3 separate regions of the Homo sapiens genome follow, and all the other regions are linked to region 3. The links are contacts of gene promoters, found by promoter capture Hi-C in blood cells and fetal thymus (Javierre and others, 2016). All regions are on one chromosome and are shown on one strand. Each heading gives the region's core, a stretch centred on a gene start or on the middle of the fragment in contact. The rest is flanking DNA. Distances are from core to core; before and after follow the strand shown. Region 1 overlaps TUFT1 (tuftelin 1). Region 2 has its middle 8.7 kb from the start of CGN. Region 3 holds the start of RORC (RAR related orphan receptor C).

Region 1 (3,468 bases), core at 594-3,093, 270 kb after region 3:
CCAAGACAAAGAACTTTCCTTGCACCAGCTGCTGGGCCACTGTTCCCCTCAAGGGAATGAAGGCAGGGGCTGCTGCTGGAGCAAGACTCTGCCTGAACCAAAATGCAAATCAAGGATACAACTCAGAATCTAAAGGATGAGGGCGAAGTCACAAAGAGACAGCTCTGCTCTCCTGAGGACATTTCTGTCCTCGAGTTTTGGAAAAACTGAAAAGCAGGATCCCAGGATTATCCCTCCCAGGAAAGACTTACCCAATCTGTTCAGTCTAACAAACATTTACTGATGCCTTCTACATCCCAGACCTGGGGGGAATGGGAGGGTGAGGATACAGACACGAGGTGGGGTGGGGTGGGGTGAACTCCTAACCTTGAGGAACTTCCCATCCCAGGTTAGACATAACTATATACAAGATTAATAACAGGCTAGGGCACGGACTTCAATTTACGCTACAGGTATCACCCAAACTAAGCAAGATCAGCTTATGAGAAGTGTGGATTTACAGGTGATTGTCTGCTTTACAAAATTCTATTATTATAAGAAGCTTGATCACAGAATCCTTATAGATAAGAGGTTTGCTAACAACTGATGATATTTAATTTATATAAGTTCAATTTCTGTACAGTGTTTCAGGAGCAGGTGTACTTATGTTTAAGCTGACATGTGTAAATGTAAGTGCTCATCGGCTGGAGAGTCCTAACCAGATTGTGAGTGCTCCAGAGAAGCCAGCATCACCTCTATTTTCTCCATTCCTGGCAGGGATGCTAGATTTAGCACACACTGGGTAATTGGTAAATGAGACTGCCTGGCACAACCCCACCTCCTCGGTGGGGACCCAACCATGGACCATTTCCTATTACCTGTATCTCCTGTCGATGGAGAGAATCTCCTAGGTTCCTGTCAAGCTTGCTACTTATATCCTCCCGGAGCTTCTGTAGGCAGTTCCTGGCCTGGGAGGGGAGGGGAAGAAACTTGAGCTTTAGGGTAGAGAAAGAGAGCATGCCAACTCACCCAACTCTGTGCCCCATCCCTGGCCTGTACTGCGAGTCAGGCACTGTCCTAACGACTGGCTGCAGGATGGAGGGAGGGACCTTGGTCAAGTGGAGCTACAGCTGACATTCTTGTTGGGGAGACACAAGACACAAAAGACAAATAAGTAAAATGTGTAATATGTTATATGGGCATAAGTGCCAACGAGAAACACGAGCCAGGAAGGGAGTTAAGAAATGCTGTGAAAAGTGGCTGGTAATTTTCGATAGGTGGCTGGGACAGTGCTGGGCCCATAGTACTTAAGTATTTGTGGATTAATGGATCAGGTATGGTCAAAAGTTATATATTTGACACACGGGAGGGCATGGTGGCATTTCAGAGACATAAAGGAAAAAGAAGGGGAAAAACCAGAATCCACAAAAGAAGACAGTCACAAAAAATGTGAGATTTAGAGAAATGACCTAGGCACTGCGTGAGAGGTAAGGGGTGCCCACCTCCTGGATGTACTGGACCTCACTCTTCAGCTGGTTAATATTCTTCTCGTGAATCATCTTGTCTCCAGACCTCCCCTTCAAGTACACCTGAAATAAGAACACCATTTAGTTAAGAAACCTCAAATTAAATTAACTATACAAAAATAGGCAGCTTCATATAGTGCTGGTGGGAGGGTAAATTGTTACCACCAATTTACTGGGTGGAATTTGGTGATTCGGATCAGAAGACCTAAAAATATATTTACTTTTTGGTCTATCAGTTCTACTTCTGGAAATTTACCCTAATGCAATAAATTTAGCTCAATGCTATATAGCTGTATTGGCATAAACACTCACATATATACAGTCATGCATCACTTAATCATAGGAATACATTCTGAGGGATGCATCATTAGGCAATTTCATCCTTGTACAAACATCACAGAGTGTACACACACAAACCTAGATGGCATGGCCTCCTACACCCCTAGGCTGTATGGTGTACCCTATTGCTCCTAGGCTACAAACAAACCTGCACAGCATGTTACTGTACTGAATACTGTAGGTGATCGTCACACAATGGTAATGTATCTAAACCCAGAAAAAATACAGTAAAAATGGAGTATAATAATCTTATGGGACCACTGTTGTCTACGCAGTCCATCACTGACCAAAACGTTGTTATGCAGTTTTGTTATGCACTGACCAAAACTGTAACTGAGTCAATCATGTGGTATGGGATTTATATCTAAAAAAGCTGTTTTATAAAAAAAAAGAGAGAGAGAAATAACAAAAATCATTTTATTTTTTAAAAAATAAGTTCCATCAGCCAGGTGGGCTGGTGCACGCCTATAATACCAGCATTTTGGGAGGCTGAGACAGGACGATTGCTCGAGCCCAGGATTTGGAGACCAGCCCAGGGAACAAGGCGAGACTGTCTCTACAAAACTAAAAATATATAAATAAATAAATAAGTTCCATCAGGATGAACCCATTATAGGAAAACATAAGTTCCATAAACACACCTCCTACCTGTCTCCACAACCTCTAGCAGCAAAACATGGTCAGTGGATAGGCCCCTAGTAAGGTCATCCAGTCCATCCCCTTGCCTGGGGCCAGGCTGCACCAAAGTTGCTAACAGGCAGACTGTAGTCTCCTGGTATTAATTAAGATATTTCTAGGAGATTGCCAGGAACTAGCAGCTCAGGTCTGGTTCCTTCCATCAAACCACAAGCTCCCTTTGGCAACAACATCAACTGCTCCTTCTCATATACGTGCAGGGAGGAAGAGGACAGGGAGAAAAGTTGGAGGTGAACTAAGCTTACCTTAATGATCTCCTCATGTCCATCATGGGACTCCACCAGTTCTGAAGCCAGAGAATGACCAGCTGAGTGGCTGGACACCATGGCATAGGTCTTCCTGCCCGCCTGGCCAAAGAGAGATGAGAGAGAGAGAGAGAGAGAGAGATGGCTCAGACACCACATGGCAAGCCCAGAACTCCTGCCCCTCAGCTAATGCAGAAGACCTGTTTCTCAAAAGACTTGAAGGATTAGTCTGACTTTCCTCTCCAAAAATTCGTTTCCGAACTTCTAACAGAAGCCACACAGCAGCAAGAACACCGGCCAGGGAGAATGGACAGAAGTAGCAGTTTAGTTTTAATTTTAGTGGGGGACTCCTCCTGCCCCAAAGCAGTGCAGAAGGCTGAGGCAAGCTGGATGTTGCTGAAAGGAGGGGCTCCCACGCTCGCATCACCAGAGTCGGCTCCAGGCAGTACTTGGGTAAGAGGCCAGCAGCAAGGAAGCACTGGTGTGGGGAGGGGGCCTTGCCCACCAGAATTCCGCAGTACCTTCTGGGCTATGTGTTCAAGTTCATCTCCTGTCAGTTCACCCTGGAGAGTCAGCCTGAGAATGTCCACGCTGCCCTAATAATGACAATGACAGCAACAATAACCCCTCAACTTTACAGTCTACAGGTACAAACTGCTACCAGTACAGGGGTGCTTCTGCCA
Region 2 (3,740 bases), core at 1,090-3,589, 330 kb after region 3:
TTTCTTGAAGAGGAAAAAGTCATGTTCTGCCTCCCACCTCTTCCTTTTGTTATCAGCTAGGAACGTGAGTAAGTGTAGCCAAATCTAGTACATAAAGGATAATTGTTTGGGACAAAGCATTCCAAGCAACTTTTTTCAGTTTAATCAGAGTCACTCCCCGACAAGGGAAAGACTCATTTCCAAGTTCCTTGTATCTCACCACACCCTGTAGCCCCTATTGTCCTAGCTGCGCATCTCTAACTCTCTGAGCAGCTAAATTCCAGTAAGTTCAAAGTCTCTAGTATATATTCATTTTTTTGTTTGTTTTTTAAATAGTAGAAATGGGGTTTCCCTATGTTGGCCAGGCTGCTCCTGAACTCCTGGGATCAAGCAATCCACCCACCTTGGCCTCCCAAGATGCTGGAATTACAGGCGTGAGCCATAGCACCTGGCCTTCAGTCTACATTCAAAATAAGAATATCATTTAAAAGGAAAAAAAAAAAAAGAGCAAGACAGGCCATATATTTCCAATTCCCAGGCCAGGCATGGTGGCTCAAGCCTGTAATCCTAGCACTTTGGGAGGCTGAGGCAGGTGGATCACCTGAAGTCAGGAGTTCGAGACCAGCCTGGCCAACATGGTGAAATCTCGTCTCTACTAAAAATAAAGAAAAAAAATTAGCTGGGCATGGTGGCATGTGCCTGTAATCCCAGCTACTTGGGAGGCTGAGGCACGAGAATCGCTTGAATCCGGGAGGCAGAGGTTGCTGTGAGCCGAGATCGCACCACTGCACTCCAGCCTGGTCAACAGAGCAAGACACCATCTCAAAAAACAACAACAAAAAAAGAAATTAAAAGGAACAGATTCCTTCGTGTAATTCTTTTTCTGGGTTGTTAAAACGCCATTCTGAGGAGAGAGCCAGTTTTCCTCCACACACCCAAACAACAGCTGATTCTACTTCCCATCTCGCTTTCCTCCTCTCATCAATGAAGGGGACAGAAGCTTGGCAGCTCAAACCTATACACACATCCCGCAAGCCCTGAGACTCCTCCAGTTCTCTCACAGTCCACTGTGGCAAAGAGTTTTAGCAGAATCCCATTAATTGCTGATTTGCTCAGGTTTTTTATCTGAATCTTTTTCAAAGTATAAGTCTCATAATACAGAGGCAAAATGACATATGGAAATAGCACTGAACTCCAAGACAAAAATACCTGATGTGGCAGCCATGACATCCCTTAGAAAGAATCTGCCATTCAACTGCCAGAAAGCAATTCACTGTCAGCCCACAGCTGCATCACCTTTGGGATCCACTACCATGTCAGAGCTAAGGCCACACTCTTCCTGAACAGCCCCAAGCCAATGACTGACAGTGTGGTTACTGGGACCTGGCCGTTTCTGCCCACTGTTGATTTCTCTATGTGATAACCTTTGCCCTGGTGCTTTCCACTGGGTAGACTGCCACTTGGAAGGATCTGCACCACAGCTTGAGGTTTTTCTTGCCCGATTTTGCTTCTGCCTTCCTTTACTTTATCAGGATAGGGAAGCCTATCCAAAGTCTTTCTCTGCCCATTCCTGCCTCCTTCTTTATCTTTCACAGGTGTTGCCAGCCAGTAAGCCTCTTGCACTCCTAACTTTGTCTCAGTATCTGCTCCCCAGACCACCTGAACTGACTCAGGTGACCACTCCAGAAGTGGTCTGAAAAAGCGAGCAGTAAGATAGGTTTAGGGAACTGCAGTACTCACTGCCTGGCTGGCAACAAGAACCCCTCCTGGATGTTGTGGGGTACAGGTAGTCTCTGGAACAAGATGGTAGCCAAGTTGCTAAATTTTCACTGATGTGAAATGAGAGAATGCTCCTGTGGTGGAACAGTTCAGGCATAGGGGGTAGGCGGAGGGACAGCAGTGAGTATAGGGACAATGGAATTGGCTGGCTGTTATTAAGTTGCACTGGGCCCTGCCAGGAGAAAATGAAAAGCTGAGAGTAGTTAACAAACGTTGGAAATTAACTGTGAAGGTCAGAGGGCCTTTCTGATGGCTTACAAAGAGGCCCTTATCTATAGCAGTGAGAGAGCAAAAAAATCTGAAGACCAAACTCGAGGACTTCAATAGAGCTCCCAGAGGCAGATCTGCAATCAAGGTCAGGACTCTGCTTGGGAAAACCTGGGACCCTAATACGTGGAATAGAAATATCTGGGCAGGTCCCCCCAAAGATTCTGGCTTTCTGCACTCCTCTGAACCCTCAGAGCCTTAAGACACTGCAGAGGCCTCTCCCCTCCCATGATCTCCTGACTGTGAAGATCTTAATCTTAAACTCTCATGGGTTAAATTACAGCATAGTCTGGTAGCTAAGGACATACTAGGCCTAATAAGGAAAGAAAGGGACTATAACCCAAAGTATCCTGCAAGAACTGGCCAACGTTTAGTGGTAAGAGTAGGGAAGTACCCATGGGATTGGATTTTGACAGTGCTTAATCAAGGGGATGAAATATAAAAGTGGATTAAGGGCAAGTTTTTTAACTTGGGGACCACTTTCTTGGGATAGAATATAACTTCCTGGCCGGGCACCGTGGCTCACACCTGTAATCCTAGCACTTTGGGAGGCCGAGGTGGGCGGACCACCTGAGGTCGGGAGTTCGAGACCAGCCTGACTCACATGGAGAAACCCCGTCTCTACTAAAAGTACAAAATTAGCCAGGTGTGGTGGCGCATGCCTGTAATCCCAGCTACTCAGGAGGCTGAGGCAGGAGAATTGCTTGAACCCGGGAGGCGGAGGTTGCGGTGAGCCAAGATCGTGCCATTGCAGTCCAACCTGAGCAACGAGAATGAAACTCCGTCTCAAAAAAAATAAAAATAAAAAGGAATTTAACTTCCTGGTAAGGACCTGCCCCTAGTGGCTCCTAGGAGCATGGAGGAAATGATAATGGTTGCTGAGTGAAGGTCAAATGTCTGTATTGCCAGAGCAACTGGGGGAAGAAAAGATTAAATGGCTCAGCAAAACGGGCATGATAGAGTGAATTCTAAGAATGCTCCATAGAAGGCCCGGAGGAATCCCTTTTTTTTTGAGATGGAGTCTCGCTCTGTCACCCAGGTTGGAGTGCAGTGGTGCAATCTCAGCTCACTGTAACCTCTGCCTCCCGCGTTCAAGTGATTCTCCTGCTTCACCCTCCCCAGTAGCTGGGATTACATACGCCACCACGCCCGGCTAATTTTTGTATTATTATTATTATTATTTTTGAGATGGAGTCTCGCTCTGTCACCCAGGCTGGAGTGTAGTGGCGCCATCTTGGCTCACTGCAACCTCCGCCTCCCAGGTTCAAGCAATTCTCCTGTCTCAGCCTCCCGAGTAGCTAGGACTACAGGCGCATGCCACCACGCCCGGCTAATTTTTTTTTTTTTGTATTTTTAGTAGAGACAGGGTTTCACTGTGTTAGCCAGGATGGTCTCGATCTCCTGACCTCATGATCCACCTGTCTCAGCCTCCCAAAGTGCTGGGATTACAGGCATGAGCCACCGCGCCCGGCCTAATTTTGTATTTTTAGTAGAGACAGGGTTTCACCATGTTTGCCAGGCTGGACTCAAACTCCTGACCTCAGGTGATCTGCCTGCCTTGGCCTTCAAAGTGCTGGGATTACAGGTGTGAGCCACTGCACCAGCCAGGAATCCCATTTACCAAGGCCATCAAAAATGTGCTGGTGAAAGTGCCAGCATCACACAGAAGCTTAGTTGTGGCTTTCTTCTACAAGCCAGTGCTAACAGGAGGAGAC
Region 3 (3,742 bases), core at 1,062-3,561:
GAAAGAGATGCTGGGGACTGCTCCCCAGTTCCAAGCCACCACCACCACCTCCCATCCCTTCCAGAGTGTTTGCCCCCAGCATGGAGATTTCCCCAATAAGGGGACTGGGCACGTGGGGATGAAATGATTCTCTGATCCCTATCAGCCCCTTCCTTATATAAGATTGTATTTGAAGAGGAAATAACCACCGCCCTGCTTTGAAAGGACGATTCTTCCAGATAAGGGGCTGTGATTGCAGCAAGAGGGAGAAAGTTTAGACAAGAGGGGGAACTTCCCATAAGGATAACCAAGGGATCTTCTTGCCCTGGGGAGAAAAAAAACTCAAACTATCCATGCTTAGGGCAGGGGAGAGGTAGAGAATGCCTAGGAAGCATGTGACACTCCTAGGCCTAGAGGTCAGGATACTGTCTTCTAAATCTCCAGTCACTTCCTCCCCACCCTACATAGTAGCACAAAGTGGCACAACTGGGGAGTCAGCTGTGCCTGCAGTGTCTGGGGATGCTCTGTGTCCATCCGCAAGCATTCTACGTGACCTCCACTCTGTGCCTGCAATTGGTGGGTTGTAGAAGAGGTAGTCACGAAGGGCCCCTGGGAGACCCAGAGTCAAGAGGAAGAGAGGCCTAAAAAGGAGAAAAGATAGAGAGGGGACAGCTGGAGAAGAGCCACAGACAGGCAGGAGCCAGCAAAGAGAGACAGAGAGATGGGGGATAACTGAGGAGTTCTGGGGAGGAGGGGAGCAGAACGGCATCTCCCCTGCACTCCCACGCCCGGCATGTTGCTGGCTCCTCCTGTCAGCTGGAGGGTGCTGGGGGGGCGGGGGGGAAGGGAGCTGCAAAGCACTTTACCTCTCACTCCAAACCTGCCCAAGGTGCAGAGCCCCCAAACAGACCAACATCCTGTTCTGTGCAGAGATGCATACATGGATGCGTGGGCCCACATTTACCAAAAGAACACGGGGGATAATCAGAGCCTCAGAGGCATAGGCACATACCCTTAGACTCAGTGCAGAAGGTCCCCAAAACTTCCCCTCCTCTTTCTCACTACTCATCCACTGTCAATGACCCTAGGAGTTGAAAAGTCCTTCTCCACTTCTACCTTTATCTCTCAATCTGCAGCCATGGGGAGACTCTGGGAGCTACCTAAGAACAGAGGTGCTGATGGTAGCAGAGTGTGAAGCTCCAGGGTTGGGCAGGAGTGGAGGATGGCGAGACGAGACGGCAGAAGAGGGAAGGGACAGCTGCTTGCCCTCTCCATGCCAGGTGCCACGTGCACCAGGTGGGGGGGAGTGGGCGAGTCACGAGGCTGTGGCATGGCTGACTCCTGCTCTGCTGTTTACCAGCTGGGAACGAGAGCAGGAGGAGGTGCCAGGGAGCCTCTTGCTGCAGCCTGGCCCCTGGCCAGTTGCTTGTTGGGTAACCAGGAGAGTCAGGCCCAGCTAATCAAACTCTGGGCCCAGGCCATGCAGGAGAAAAGCAGCACCAGGATCCCCAGAAGCCTCGTCCTCTTGGCCCCCTTCAGAGCCTTCACTGCAGGCCTCAGTGTGGGCCACTAGGTCTGGGAGCCTCTCCTTCTCCCAATGAGTCCAGTGCAGCATCTCTCCTCTCCTCTTCCCCACCATGGCTTCTCTGCCTCCAGGCACTCCTCCAGGCCTGCCCCTTGCCCCAACAGATGAGGAGCACGTAGAAGCATCAGGGGGTCAGGGAGTCCTGGCAAGAGCAGCAAGGGTTAGGGGCAGGGGCCGAGCAGGCAGAGGCCTCAGGGAACTGAACAGTCACTGGGAGGAGTCTGACTGCATCCTAGAGAAGAGACACAGTCCCCCAAACCTGCCCTCTCCATCTCCCCTATGCCTGTCACCTGTCTTAGGTAGAAATCACAGGATTCTAAAGTCACAAAGACTTGGGTCCAAATCATAGCTCACCCATTTATTGTTCTTGTGTGAGTCCTTGGGCAAAATCATTAATATCTCTGAGAATCCCTCCACTCACTGATCAATCTGGAATAATAATGTTTCCCTGTGGTGGGTGCTGTGAATATTTACACAAAGTAAAAGCATGGATTTACATAAAGTGTCCTGCAAAGGGCCCAGCACACAGTAAGTGATTAATAAATGCTAGTTCCCTTCCTTTCTCCTGTCCTGTTTCTCCTCAAGGCTCCATGCACTGGTCCACTGGTCTCTCCTCATGTCCCCTCCTGGTGCCAGGACACTCTGCCAGCCACTCCTTTTCCCTGCCTGCTGGAGGGCCAGGTGCTCCCGCCTTCCACCCTCCGCCCTCCTCCCTCCCCTGGGCCCTGCTCCCTGCCCTCCTGGGCAGCCAGGGCAGCCAGGACGGCACCAAGGGAGCTGCCCCATGGACAGGGCCCCACAGAGACAGCACCGAGCCTCACGGGGTAAGAGGCCCATGGCCCTGCCTGCAGGTGGAAGAGACTGCTGGAGGTTCAGAGGAGGGCAGAAATGGCAAGAGACTGGGCAAGAAGTGAGGAGGGGAGGGAGGGACAAGAGTGCAGAGGAGAAAGCCCTGGGTTGGCAGGGAGTGAAACTGGAGGAGAAACAGGAGGAGGGGCTGGGGAGATGACAGAGGAGAAGAAATCGCAAAAGGAGAGAAACAGGAAAGAAAGGGAGAAGCGGGAGAAGGAAGAAACAGGTTGGAGGGTAGATGGGGAGGGAAGAGCCAAGTCAGGGGAGCCAGATCTAGACCCAGCGAGGGGTCAGAATGTGGACAGGCCCTCCCAGGTGTGGGCTTACCCCCCAGGAGGCACAGGGACACTGCTTCCTTGATCTGGCCAGGACCCCAGACAGCAGTGGCCGGGAGGCTGGCTGCTCCACCTTCTGTTCATTCACCAGTGGAGAAACCTGTCCTTTAAGGAGTGACAGACTTGGGGAGTGTGGCAGGGGGAACCACACCCTGTCAGCTGCCCATGACCACGTAGCCTGGTCCTTTCCTCGCCACTCACCCAGGGATGTGGGATTTCATCTCTGCAGAGAATGTGGGGCACTGGGCCATCAGCAGGGAAGGACAGAATGTCAGGCCGTCCTTGGCCCCACCCATGGTCCAAGTCAGGAACCCCCTCAGAGCAGGATCGCAGGGCCACAGGCTTGGTCAGCTGTGAGCATGGAGGAGGAAAGTTTGAGGGCCAGAGCCACCAAGCTCCAGGGCCACCTGGTGGAGGAAGAACTGGCTGCCTGGGTGAGCAAGGGGAGCACCCCCACCACAGGACTGCTCTGAGGTGCAAGGCTAGAGGCCAGGAGCCGGTGCCACGTCAGGGAGGAAGCTGGGTGGGGCCAGGCAGGAGCAAGGGGAGGTGGGCGGGGCTGGGTGGGGCCTTGCCACCTCGGGGCAGTCTTTTCTCCTCCCTCACCCCAGCAGAGCCCAGGCCATCAGGCCACTCGCCTCCACACAGCCTAGTGACCACGGCCTGCCAGTGGGGAGCATCTCCCGGGCAGAAGGGCACTGTGTGTGTGTGTGTGTGTGTGTGTGTGTGTGTGTGTGTGTATGTCAGGTGTCAAGACTGAACAGCAGAAGGAAAAAAATAACAGAATAGAGTCAGAGGTTAGGGAAGCTATAGGGGGTATAGGGCATGGTTGAAGGGCTTTCTGAGACAAAAGACTGGCCATGTGTTCTGTGATGAGCTGCTATGTGGATGTAGGAAATGGGCCAAGGTCTGGCAGGGGAATCCTCTTTCCAGGGGCTCCCTGGCTAGGTGTTTCATAGATGTTAACTGCATGAATGGGTGACACCCCCCC

What was found. The method cuts DNA at HindIII sites, captures the fragments that hold promoters and counts their contacts. A CHiCAGO score of 5 or more calls a contact.
Region 1: a contact is called between a fragment that was not itself captured here and the fragment with the promoter of RORC in region 3, in 8 of 17 cell types (M1 macrophages, M0 macrophages, endothelial precursors and 5 more). The highest score is 9.7, in M1 macrophages.
Region 2: a fragment that was not itself captured here is called in contact with the fragment with the promoter of RORC in region 3 in 2 of 17 cell types (M0 macrophages and M1 macrophages); the score reaches 7.5 in M0 macrophages.

What each region holds. Positions count from the first base shown.
Region 1 is chr1:151,562,004-151,565,471 of GRCh38, reverse strand. TUFT1 (tuftelin 1) reads right to left here. Exons shown (of 13, transcript NM_020127.3): 2 at 3,307-3,381; 3 at 2,786-2,887; 4 at 1,482-1,568; 5 at 858-947. Among named protein-coding and RNA genes, the nearest start is that of MIR554, 18 kb to the right of the region's middle. The HindIII fragment of the contact is 1,878 bases long and covers 905-2,782 here.
Region 2 is chr1:151,500,803-151,504,542 of GRCh38, reverse strand. No RefSeq gene overlaps it. Among named protein-coding and RNA genes, the nearest start is that of CGN, 8.7 kb to the left of the region's middle. RefSeq lists an enhancer at 152-652. The HindIII fragment of the contact is 2,715 bases long and covers 982-3,696 here.
Region 3 is chr1:151,830,371-151,834,112 of GRCh38, reverse strand. It overlaps RORC (RAR related orphan receptor C), which reads left to right and starts at 2,311. Exons shown (of 11, transcript NM_005060.4): 1 at 2,311-2,388. The coding sequence starts at 2,349. RefSeq lists an enhancer at 3,003-3,690. The HindIII fragment of the contact is 14,534 bases long and covers 1-3,742 here.